Regions from separate parts of the Homo sapiens genome. Here region 1 is linked to region 2. The links are contacts of gene promoters, found by promoter capture Hi-C in blood cells and fetal thymus (Javierre and others, 2016). All regions are on one chromosome and are shown on one strand. Each heading gives the region's core, a stretch centred on a gene start or on the middle of the fragment in contact. The rest is flanking DNA. Distances are from core to core; before and after follow the strand shown.

Region 1 (5,781 bases), core at 1,891-4,390, 270 kb after region 2:
ACCATTTACCCATCGAAGGGCATTTAGGTTGTTTCCAGTTTTGGGTTCCAGGTTTTTGCATGAGCATGTTTCCTTTCTTTGGGATAAATGCCTAAATGCAATTTTTCAGTCATATGGCAAGTACATAGTTTTTAAAATGTGGCTGTACCATTTTACATTCTTACCAGCAACATAAGTGATGCAGTTTATTCACATTCTTGCCAGTACTGGTGTTATCACGATTTTTTAGCTTAGTCATTACCATGGCATGTGGTGATATAACATTGTGGGTTTTTTTTTTTTTTTGTCTAATAGCTAATGATGTTGAAAATCTTTTCATATTCTTCTTTGTCATCTGTACATCCTCCTCCGTGAAATGCCACTTCATATCTTTTGCCTATTTTCAAATTTATTTTTTTTACTATTGAGTTTCGAGAGTCGTTTATCTATTATAGATACAAGTCCTATGTCAGACGTGTGGTTTGCAAATATTTTCTCCCTGTCTGTAGCTTGTCTTTTTCATTCTCCTAACAGGGTATTTCTTACTTGAACTGTTTTCTAAAAATATCCAGTAAATGTTAATTTTTCTAAGCAACTTTAAACAAAGTCAATTAGTAGTATAGAAACTATAGACTGTAAAGTATACTGCATTTCTGCTTAGAGTTCTCTATACACAGAGGCCTAAGACAGCACAAAATAAGTATGATTTATTTAGCCCAATTTTCCTGCATCGTTTCCATAAAAAATATTGAAGTGGCTCATAATATTAGTATTCAAACACCTGTCATACACATTCCATCCCTGGCCTTAACCTTTCCCCCTTTATCCCTTACGTATTTGTATTAGGATAAGAATATCCTCTCTCCCAAACTTCACATACCGGGGCCTGTCAAGGGGTGGAAGGATAGGGGAGGGATAGCATTAGGAGAAATACCTAATGTAGATGATGGGTTGATGGGTGCAGCAAACCACCATGGCATGTGTATACCTATGTAACAAATCTGCACGTTCTGTACATAATGTCCCAGAACTTAAAGTACAATAATAATAAAAAAAAAATCCCCTCTCCCTTCTTTTCCGAAACCAAGGGCCTCTCAAGACTAATGGGAGGAAAGTTTATTTATTATAAAACTCAAGATATTTTGTTTAATATAGTATGGGAGATATATGAGGGGAGCTTAATCTTAACAGTGCAATGACCTGATTTTTAAAATTAACCCGAGTCCCTGTCCAACAGCAGAGCATGACAGAACAAACTAATGCTACCTGCTCCAGATACAGAAAAGGTAGGACATTGGAAAATCTGGGTGGATGGGGGTAAAGGATTCAGATCAGCCCATAACGGCCACGTGATATACCCTGACGTCCTAGGATTAAGGCCATGAGCCATGGAAGGAGGTTGGAGGACAAATGAAATACAGAAAGTCATAATATCTACAACCCTGTGGTCTACAAAGGAGTTTGGTTATACTACATGAACCTGAAATAGATGATGGATTAAAGTCTCCATTATTCCATGTAATGATAAAACAATTTCAAGTGATCATAAGACCATTTTATAATGAATTCCTTCTTTCCACTGTAAAGGCCATAGTGTTAGATTGCTTACTCTTGTTAAGATTTACTGGATGCTAACAGTCCAGCACTGGCTAGGCATCGAGAACATAAAAATAAATGAGAAGTGTTCCTGCTTTTAAGATGTTCCTACTGTGGCAAACAGAGAGCTACAAAATATAATAATATAGAAGTATGTAAAAAAAAAAAAAAAAAGGAATAACCAATTCTGCCAGGTTGAATAGTAGGGTCACGAGGAAACGACGTTTGAGCTAGGTCTTGCTAGATGTTTTTAAATAAAATGTTTTTCTTCCATAATGAATATGAAACAATTAGAAAAAAAATGGGAAAATTGAGTTTTCAAGGATGAGTTCTTCAGGAAAAGAAAAGCTTTGGCTTTTAGAGAAATTGGATTCATTCATTCATTCATTCATATTCATTTAGCAAATATTCATTGCCTTCACTCCAAGCTAGATTCCGAGAATCCAACAAACGGTACTTGCCAAAGGGAACCTGTCGGCTGGTGGGATGATAGAGATCAGACAGTTGCCACACAATGTGAAAAGTGCCGTGAAAAAGTAAGCATAGGGTGATGTGGAAGCACATGGTTGCCTCTAATCTGGACAGACTGAAGACACTGAGATTTACAGTTAGGCCAGGGTCATTTGAAGCACTGCCTTGTTGTATTTGTATGTAATGACATTTCGAAACGTGGAATGAAAGGAAAAGTACAGGCAGACTATAAGAAGCTTCCACGGATGTGTCTAACTTTGCAAATGAACAAAAATCTAATGTAGACATATCCTGGAAACTTCTAGTTTGCCTGCACTTTTCCATTCCAAATGGAGGTTTGGACATTTAACAGAGGCCTCAAAGGGTTATCCTGTTAAGATTTTAGTATATACAGCAGGGGCTTGAAGGAATGTTGATTCCATTCCTCTTGGCCTCCTTTTATGAATCCAGTTCTGTGCTAGCTCTGTGAGTAAATGAAAATGCCTTCAAAATTGGGATGCCAGAGTTAGACAGCAAAGGAGCAAAGGAACCCGTATCAGCTAAGTGTGGGAAGGGAAATATGTACCAGTTGCTATATACTTTCACACGTTATTTTAACCTCATAACAACTCTTATCAATTCAGATGATGGAACAGGGTTAAAGAATAGAGGCTGAGCACCTGGCTGTCCACGGACACACTGAGCCAGCAGGAGCACCCGTGCCCCGCAGCAGCACCCAGGGCCCTCCTAGAGTTCCGGCCTTAACGCCTAGGAACGTGCCATTGGCTCCTGCGTTTCTCGTTCCCGTCGGGAACGCCACTGGCTAGTACCTTGCCTGGCCCCCAGTGCTCAATCCCTGGTAGTTGGGAGGACGAAAAGGAAATCCCTCTCTGGTCGGTCCTCACCGCAGCCCTGTGTCAGGCCGTCACACGGCGGCCTCCAGAGTCGAAGGCGCTCTGAGGAGATGCAGGTTGTGTCCAAAACCTCCCACCTCGGGGTCTCCTGAACGTCCCAACAAGCTCCTTGGGCCCTTAGGCGTTAGGCCAACCCCAGGCCTCGGCTGGCCCCGCCCACTCTCCGCGGCCGGAAGTGGCGGCGCCGAGTGAGGTAAATGCGTGCCCGGAAGCGCGACCTCGGGCGGTTGGAGGGGCTACCGGGTCTTACCAGTCCGTGGCGGGAGTCCCGGAGGACCCTCGACGGGGGAGTTGCCGAGAAAAGGCCTCGCCGGCATTCTTCCCCTCCACTGGGTCCTTTGAACCTAGTTTGGCTGGGACTCGCCTTCAGGCGGCGCGGAGGATTTCGAGGCCCTGAGGCGCGGCCCTTAATTTCCGGAAGTGGGGGCCGCGCCGCGCCGTCAAGATGTGCTCGACGCCCGGAATGCCGGCGCCGGGGGCCTCGCTGGCCCTGCGGGTGTCCTTCGTGGACGTGCATCCCGATGTGATCCCGGTGCAGCTGTGGGGGCTGGTGGGCGAGCGGCGGGGCGAGTACCTGCGGCTGAGCCGGGAAATCCAGGAAGCGGCGGCCACGCGCGGCCAGTGGGCGCTGGGCAGCGCCTCGGCCTCGCCCGGCGAGCTGTGCCTGGTGCAGGTCGGGCTTTTGTGGCACCGCTGCCGCGTGGTCAGCCGGCAGGCACAGGAGAGCCGTGTCTTCCTGCTGGACGAGGGCCGCACCATCACGGCCGGAGCAGGCTCGCTGGCGCCTGGGCGCAGAGAGTTCTTCAATTTGCCCTCGGAAGTGCTGGGCTGCGTGCTAGCGGGCCTGGTGCCGGCAGGCTGCGGCGCGGGCTCAGGCGAGCCGCCGCAGCACTGGCCCGCCGACGCCGTGGACTTCCTTAGCAACCTTCAGGGCAAGGAGGTGCACGGGTGCGTCCTGGACGTGCTGCTGCTCCATCGCCTGGTCCTCCTGGAGGTGCCTGATGTGTTCCAACAGATGCGGGAGCTGGGCCTGGCTCGGCGGGTGCCCGACAGCCTCTTCCGTTCGCTGCTGGAGCGCTATCTCACAGCGGCCACTGCTAGCGTGGGCTCCGGGGTCCCGGTTCTCTCGCGAGTCCCGCTCAAGCAAAAGCAGCCTGGTCTGGATTACTTCTATCCCCAGCTGCAGCTGGGCGTGACGGAGGCCGTGGTCATAACCCAAGTGTGCCATCCCCACCGCATTCACTGCCAGCTCCGCAGCGTCTCGCAGGAGATCCACCGCCTCTCCGAGAGCATGGCCCAGGTATACCGGGGTTCCACGGGGACAGGGGATGAGAACTCTACCAGTGCCACCTGGGAGGAGAGGGAGGAGAGCCCAGATAAGCCGGGCTCTCCGTGTGCATCCTGTGGCCTGGATGGACATTGGTACAGAGCACTGTTGCTTGAGACTTTTCGGCCCCAGCGCTGTGCCCAGGTGCTTCATGTGGACTATGGAAGGAAGGAGTTAGTGAGTTGCAGCAGCCTTCGGTACTTGCTGCCTGAATATTTTCGAATGCCGGTGGTGACCTACCCTTGTGCTTTGTATGGACTCTGGGACGGTGGGAGAGGCTGGTCTCGGTCACAGGTCGGTGACCTGAAGACACTGATACTAGGCAAGGCAGTGAATGCAAAGATTGAATTTTATTGCTCCTTTGAGCATGTGTATTATGTCAGCCTGTATGGAGAAGATGGGATTAATCTGAACCGTGTGTTTGGAGTACAGTCGTGTTGCTTGGCTGACCGAGTCCTTCAGAGCCAGGCAACAGAGGAGGAGGAACCAGAAACATCTCAGTCTCAGTCTCCTGCTGAAGAAGTAGATGAAGAGATTTCACTCCCAGCCTTAAGATCTATCAGGTTAAAGATGAATGCCTTCTACGATGCGCAGGTAGAGTTTGTTAAAAATCCTTCTGAGTTTTGGATTAGGTTGAGGAAACACAATGTCACCTTCAGTAAGCTGATGAGGAGAATGTGTGGTTTCTATTCCTCTGCCAGTAAGCTGGATGGTGTAGTTTTGAAACCTGAACCTGATGACCTTTGCTGTGTCAAGTGGAAAGAAAATGGTTATTATAGGGCCATAGTCACCAAATTGGATGACAAGAGTGTGGATGTATTCTTAGTTGACCGAGGCAATTCGGAAAATGTGGACTGGTATGACGTAAGGATGCTGCTTCCTCAGTTTAGGCAGCTACCAATATTGGCTGTGAAGTGCACCCTGGCTGATATTTGGCCTTTGGGAAAAACTTGGAGCCAGGAGGCAGTTTCCTTTTTTAAAAAGACTGTGCTCCACAAAGAATTAGTCATCCATATTCTTGATAAACAGGATCATCAATATGTTATTGAGATTCTTGACGAATCAAGAACAGGGGAAGAAAACATTAGTAAGGTAATTGCCCAAGCTGGATATGCCAAGTATCAGGAATTTGAAACAAAGGAAAATATCCTGGTAAATGCCCACTCCCCAGGGCATGTTTCAAACCACTTTACTACGGAGAGTAACAAAATACCTTTTGCCAAGACTGGAGAAGGAGAGCAGAAAGCCAAGAGAGAGAATAAAACCACATCTGTTTCAAAAGCTTTGAGTGACACAACAGTTGTAACAAATGGTTCAACTGAACTAGTTGTGCAGGAAAAAGTGAAAAGAGCATCTGTTTATTTTCCTCTTATGCAGAATTGCTTGGAAATTAAGCCAGGCTCCTCTAGTAAAGGAGAGCTGGAAGTTGGAAGTACAGTAGAAGTCAGAGTGTCTTATGTTGAAAACCCTGGCTATTTCTGGTGTCAGCTGACCAGGAACATACAAGGACTTAAA
Region 2 (5,927 bases), core at 1,319-3,818:
CGTGTCCTGCTCTGATTTTCTACCATACTGATAACAATGGTTAATGTTTTGATAGATATTCCAAAATTTTTTCTGTGCTTATTATAGAACTGAGATTATAAAAAACATTCAGTTTTATAATTTTTGTCCAAAAAATTCAATCTTACAGCATTTACCATTGCATAAATGTGCCATCATTTTAAACCATTCTCATATTGCTAGACTTTATTTCTTCCATACTTATTTTGCTATTTTCACTGTGATGAATATGTTTGTTCCTAAATCTTTGTCCAATATTGCTTTACTATTTCCTTCAAGTAAATGCATAGATGGAGAATACATGTGTCATAGATGGAAAATGCTATGTCAAAATTCATGGGCATTTTTATGACTCTTGCTGTATTGTCCAACAGCTTTTCAGAAAGGTACCAATTTACAATCCTTCATGAAGGATTCACTACATGTTCTCCCCTACTGAGTGTTAGCTTCATTCACTTCACATATTTGAGAGATAAAAATGATATCTCACTGTTGTTTGGATGTGCATATCTTACCTCAAAGAGCTCTCACGTAAGATTTATTCTTTAAGAGCTATAATTTGTTTCTAAGCCTCCTGATTAAAAAGTCAATAAAGAGAAACAAATTGATGAAGAAAGATTATGATAATGAACTCAGATTAAAATTTAGTTTTAAAAAACCAAGAAAGGGACATATCAATTTGGATAAAAAGCAGGACACTCTTCATTTATGATAACCAAGAACTGCAGGGAAAGAATCCCTCTATCATTCAGTTGCCATTACTCCTCTGGCCATTTTCTGAAGTCTGTTCCCCAAACAATACAGGAGCTGGGGTAAAACACTGATGTTCCAGTTTTCTCTAATTCCTTATATATAATCTTATCGACATAATCCAACATATTCAATTTCATTTGGGGGTAGTGTATTTCAGAGAAACGAACTAAAACGCTGTCTTAAGTATTTGTGTGACAGGTCTAATGCTACTACAATAAAAATAAAGCTGCCATTTCCTAAGAGCCAGGCACTGTGCCAGGTAATTTACACACACAATTAATTTTTGCAATACTTAATTGCAGAAGCTATTAGATCTATTTCACTGATGAGAAAACTGAGGCTTAGATTTGTTTATTTATTTTTACTGTGATAAGAGTCACACAGCTATTAAATGAATAATCTGAAACTTGAATCCAGCTGTCTGGTGCAAATGCCAATGTTCTCTCACAAATCCCACCTTTGTTTTGTACATCATTTGACATTAATCATATATGAGATTATTATCACTATCCTTATTTAAACTTCAAGAAAGGAAAATTATGATAATATAGTAATATAACATTATCTTAACAAAATATCTTATACTTTAGGTATCTAACGTCCATTATAAGGTCAGAGACAAACAACCTGAATTTTTAAAGCAAACACTTTAAAACTCTAAAGCCATCACTAAAAACTAAGTTATATAAATGTGCAAGTTAATCAATTAAAACGGAAATAATAAACACTTCAAATATTCCTCTCTGACCCTTCCAAAAATTCTTCCACTTCATTCAGCCCTCTAATCATTAAAGCTGCCACTTTTTCGCCATCCAGAATCAAAGTAACTTGCTCCACGTCCTCAATTCCTTACAAAATTTGGATTTCATATCCCACCCCTCCTTACAATCAGTGCCTTGTAACCACCCTTTAATGACTACGTGGATCTTTTTGTCATTCTCGTCTGACCAGTCTCAGTGTCCCCAGACCCACTGACCCACACCAGACACTCTACAGGTGGAACTAGTCATGTGCTAGGAGCCAGCTCCCATCCACTCTGGGGGAGTGGCTTAAATTTCCAGGAATTTTATCGGCTGATTGTTAAATATAATCATCTCTAAAATATGTGTGTGTGTATATATATATATATATATATATATATATATATATACAGTTGCAGGTAAATGGATTAAGACAGAAATAATAAATACTCAAAATTCAATGCTTCTTTAGAAAATAATGTGATTGGCCGGGCACAGTGGCTCATGACTGTAATCCCAGCACTTTGGGAAGCCGAGGTGGGCAGATCACAAGGTCAGGAGATCAAGACCATCCTGGCCAACATGGTGAAACCCCGTCTCTACTAAAAATATAAAAATTAGCTGGGCGTGGCGGCACACACCTGTAGTCCTAGCTACTTGGGAAGCGGAGGCTGCAGTGAGCCGAGATAGCAAAAAAAAGCCCAAAAGAAAAAAGAAAATAACATAATTTGGCTACAATCTGTGCTCTTCAGGCCGTGTGCATATATTGTAGGCATATGGTGAAAATACGACGTAATAGTGAGCTACAGTACATCTCTTCTCAACCCTACATTTAGTGATGCCATGTGGAAAGTTTGAAACCAGCCACAGCGGGAGCATTTACACCATGGAAGTCAGCAAATGCTACACATCAGGGCCTTTTAACCAATAAGCCAGTTGTAAAGCATTTAATAGTATACCACTAGATAAGGCCCAACAACCTTTTTTCAAACAGGCCTTCCAAGTGATTCTGATTCTGCTAGAGCTTGAGAACCACCGGTTTAGAAGGCCTAGTATGCTCTTCTCCCAATATTCCAACTTCTTCCTCATCCACACACAGAGTACCGGAGTTTGGAGCTTGCTTCACTTCAAAACCAATCTATCACAGCTTCAAACCACCTGATTTCATCCACGGAAGGTACATGTTAATATGAGAAAGATGACTTTCCCTGGGACCCTGTTTTAAATTTTTGCCCAAGATTTTATAAAAATAAATTGTTCTAAGCAGATTATTTGTTTATTTAATCTCAATTTAGTATTACTTCTATTTTTAAAATATAATAAAATTACAAAATATTTTTCCCCTGAAAATCATATCTCATGGAACCATGTCATCCAGACTCCATTTAGAAGTTGGCTGCTGAATAATGAAGACCAGCAGATGGCAGCAGGGACTCTTGGAAAGAAAGCCTCACGTCTTCAAACCATTTTGGCTGAGAAAGAACATAAATAAGTCAAGCACATTTCTAAATAGTTTGCTGGTTCATTTATTCTTCGTGTTGGCAAACTGCCTTTCAAAATTCAGTATAGATTATATTCTATGATTTCATAAAAACATTAACAACCAAAAAAGTCATGTAGTCTTTTTACCCAAATTGGTTCATGCCAGACAAGAGTAGACAGATCCTTTTCACTGTGTTGTCAGATTTAAAATTTCAAATTCTCGCAGACAAGACTTAAATTATTTTACTTCATTAATATTTTTAAGTATATTTAATATTATCCCTTCTACAACCAGTTTTCCTATGAAGTTAGGAGTTAAGACAGGCAGATAAACAGAGTACAGATTATAAGCCATACAACCCTCACATTAAAAAAAAAAACAAAACCTGAAAGACTAGAGCATTTAAACAAATGTTTTAGTTATCATCGTATCACTAAAATCCATGCAAGACAATTAAATTGAGTCTGATTTTAAGAATAATACAGACTACCGTGTGCAAGAGTCTTGGTTGCATCATTAAGGGGAGCTATTTGCAAGGAGTGGTTCTGTATCTATATAGCACTGACTGTTAAGAATCCATCAGGAATCTTCAGGCTCAAGAGCGGTTCAGCAACAGCAGTAATCACAGCATGAAGAAGTGATTCTCTGACTGCTGAGCAGGGTGTGGAATCAGCACTGGAAATATTGGCAAAACTGTCCTGTTATTTTTTATAATGTCATTTCAATGTCTTCTGATTAACTTTTTTTTTTTTTTTTTTGAGATGGTGTCTCACTCTGTCTCCCAGGCTGGAGTGCAATGGTGCAATCTCGGCTCACTGCAACCTCCCCTCCTGGGTTCAAGTGATTCTCCTGCCTCAGCCTCCCAAGTAGCTGGGATTACAGGTACCCACCATCAGGCCCGGCTACTTTTTTTTGTACTTTTAGTAGAGATGGGGTTTTATCATGTTGGCCAGGCTGGTCTCGAACTCTTGACCTCAGGTAATCTGCCCTCCTCGGCCCCCCAAACAGCTGGGATTACAGACATGAGCCACTGCACCCAGCCTGATCAACTATTTTTAACTGGGCACATAAAGATGCACAGACACTAGGCAGGAGTGAATCCATAATGTGTTTTTAACATCATTTATGAATCAGCACTGTGCTAGGCACTAAGGAGGCTGAGATGAACATGATGTCATCCCTGGTTACAGGAGCTCATAGACTACTGAATTCTAAATTTAGAGGATATTCAGTAAGTTCCAGTATTTATTTCACAAAGTTGTTTTGATAATGAAATGAGATAACATTTTTTAAAATTACTTCACAAACCATCCCAGCATTGAGCAAGTGCCAGTTTGCCATTATTTCTAAATAGATGAGTGACAGAATCAAACTGATATCCAAAAAAAGAGCAATGGGCAATGATGTACAAAACAGATTAAATGGGGAAAGTAAACTTAGGCAGATTAATCAGCTGGAGTCCACTGTAATAACCCAGACAGGAGGTGGCAGAGTATGAAGTGTCTGGGGCAGTGGGAACAACTGAATGAAAAAATGAAGAAAGCACGCAGATGACTTTGTGGCTGACAGCAGGACAACAGAGAGGAAAGAGACAAAAACGCCAAAAGGATGATTCAGAGAATAATGTAATAGGAAACTCAAGTGAGTGAAGTAATTTAGGGTGAAAGATAAAGAATTTGACTTTTGACATGTTAAATTTAAGATGACAGTGAAACATCAGAGTGAACAGAGCAGAAGGAAGTTGGGAGATGTCGCAACTCACAAACTCCTACTCAACTTTTAATACCCACTGCCAATGTCCTTTCTTCCAGGAAGTCTTTCCTTGATAGTCCTCAGAGGTCATTTACTCACTTCTCCAGGTTCCAAAAGCAGTTTGTTTAACATCCTAGTTTAGCATGTTATATTGGGTTGGCATTATCTAACTCTGTGTCTGTCACTTCAATGAGACTCCATTAGAACTCATTAAAAGTAGAGAAAGTCACTGATCTTTATATCCTTAGTACCAGCACAGTACATAATTCATAATAGGTACTCAATAAATGGCTAATGAATGATGAAAGTAACCAGCTGATAAAAATAAATAAATATCAAAACATAAACATCATCTGCTTAAAGGAGATAGAAAACTGTTAGTAAATATAATTTCCAAGGAAAATAATTATTTAGAAATAAGAAGTGAGCTACGTATAGGACCATAAGAATAGATGCCTTAGGGAGTGCTGCAGTTTGGTTTGTTTGACTCTTCCAAATCTCATTTGAAATCTGATCCCCAGTGTTGGAGGTGGGGCTTAATGGGAGGTGTTGGGGTCATGAGGGAGGATCCCTCACTAATAGATTAATATCCTCCCTGGGTGGTGGGGATGAGTGAGTTCTCACTGTTAGTTCCTGCGAGAGTTCTCCTGCCAGCTGGTTGTAAAAAAGAGCCTGGCACCTCCCCGGCCCAGCCCTCTCTGGCCTCCTTTCTAGCCTTGTGATCCCTGTATTCCTTCTTCTTCTGCCATGAGTGGAAGCAGCCTGAAGCCCTCACCAGAAGTGGATGCTGGCACCATGCTTCCTATACAGCCTGCAGAACAACAAATAAACCTCTTTTCTTTATCAATTATCCAACCTCAGGTATTCCTTTATAGTAACACAAATGGACTAAGACAGGGAGTAGAGAAGAAAGAGAAGCTAGTAAAAGAAAAAGAAAATAAGCCAAAGCCTCATAGAAAAGGGATGCTTTTAAAAACGAAGGAAGACATGTTCCAAACAGATTTAAAAAGCTACCAACATCAAAGTGAATGGAGATAAAGAACATACCATAGAATTTCAAAGCCAAATTTAGTTGAGAAAATTTAGGTCTATTCCACCAAGAACAAAAATAAGAGTAATGAGTAAATGTAGTTAATTTAGTGAAGAAGCCAAGGCTATGGGAACAATCCATTCTTGTTATT

The links. Contacts are between HindIII fragments. The CHiCAGO score rates a contact against its expected background, and 5 or more counts as called.
Region 1: the fragment with the promoter of TDRD6 here is called in contact with a fragment that was not itself captured in region 2 in 1 of 17 cell types (M1 macrophages); the score reaches 5.4 in M1 macrophages.

What each region holds. Positions count from the first base shown.
Region 1 is chr6:46,684,745-46,690,525 of GRCh38, forward strand. It overlaps TDRD6 (tudor domain containing 6), which reads left to right and starts at 3,141. Exons shown (of 4, transcript NM_001010870.3): 1 at 3,141-5,781. The coding sequence starts at 3,385. It overlaps TDRD6-AS1 (TDRD6 and SLC25A27 antisense RNA 1), which reads right to left and starts at 3,421. Exons shown (of 2, transcript NR_134643.1): 1 at 3,190-3,421. The HindIII fragment of the contact is 3,266 bases long and covers 2,281-5,546 here.
Region 2 is chr6:46,416,811-46,422,737 of GRCh38, forward strand. The region is part of intron 2 of RCAN2 (regulator of calcineurin 2); the gene reads right to left. Among named protein-coding and RNA genes, the nearest start is that of RCAN2, 72 kb to the right of the region's middle. The HindIII fragment of the contact is 9,849 bases long and covers 1-5,927 here.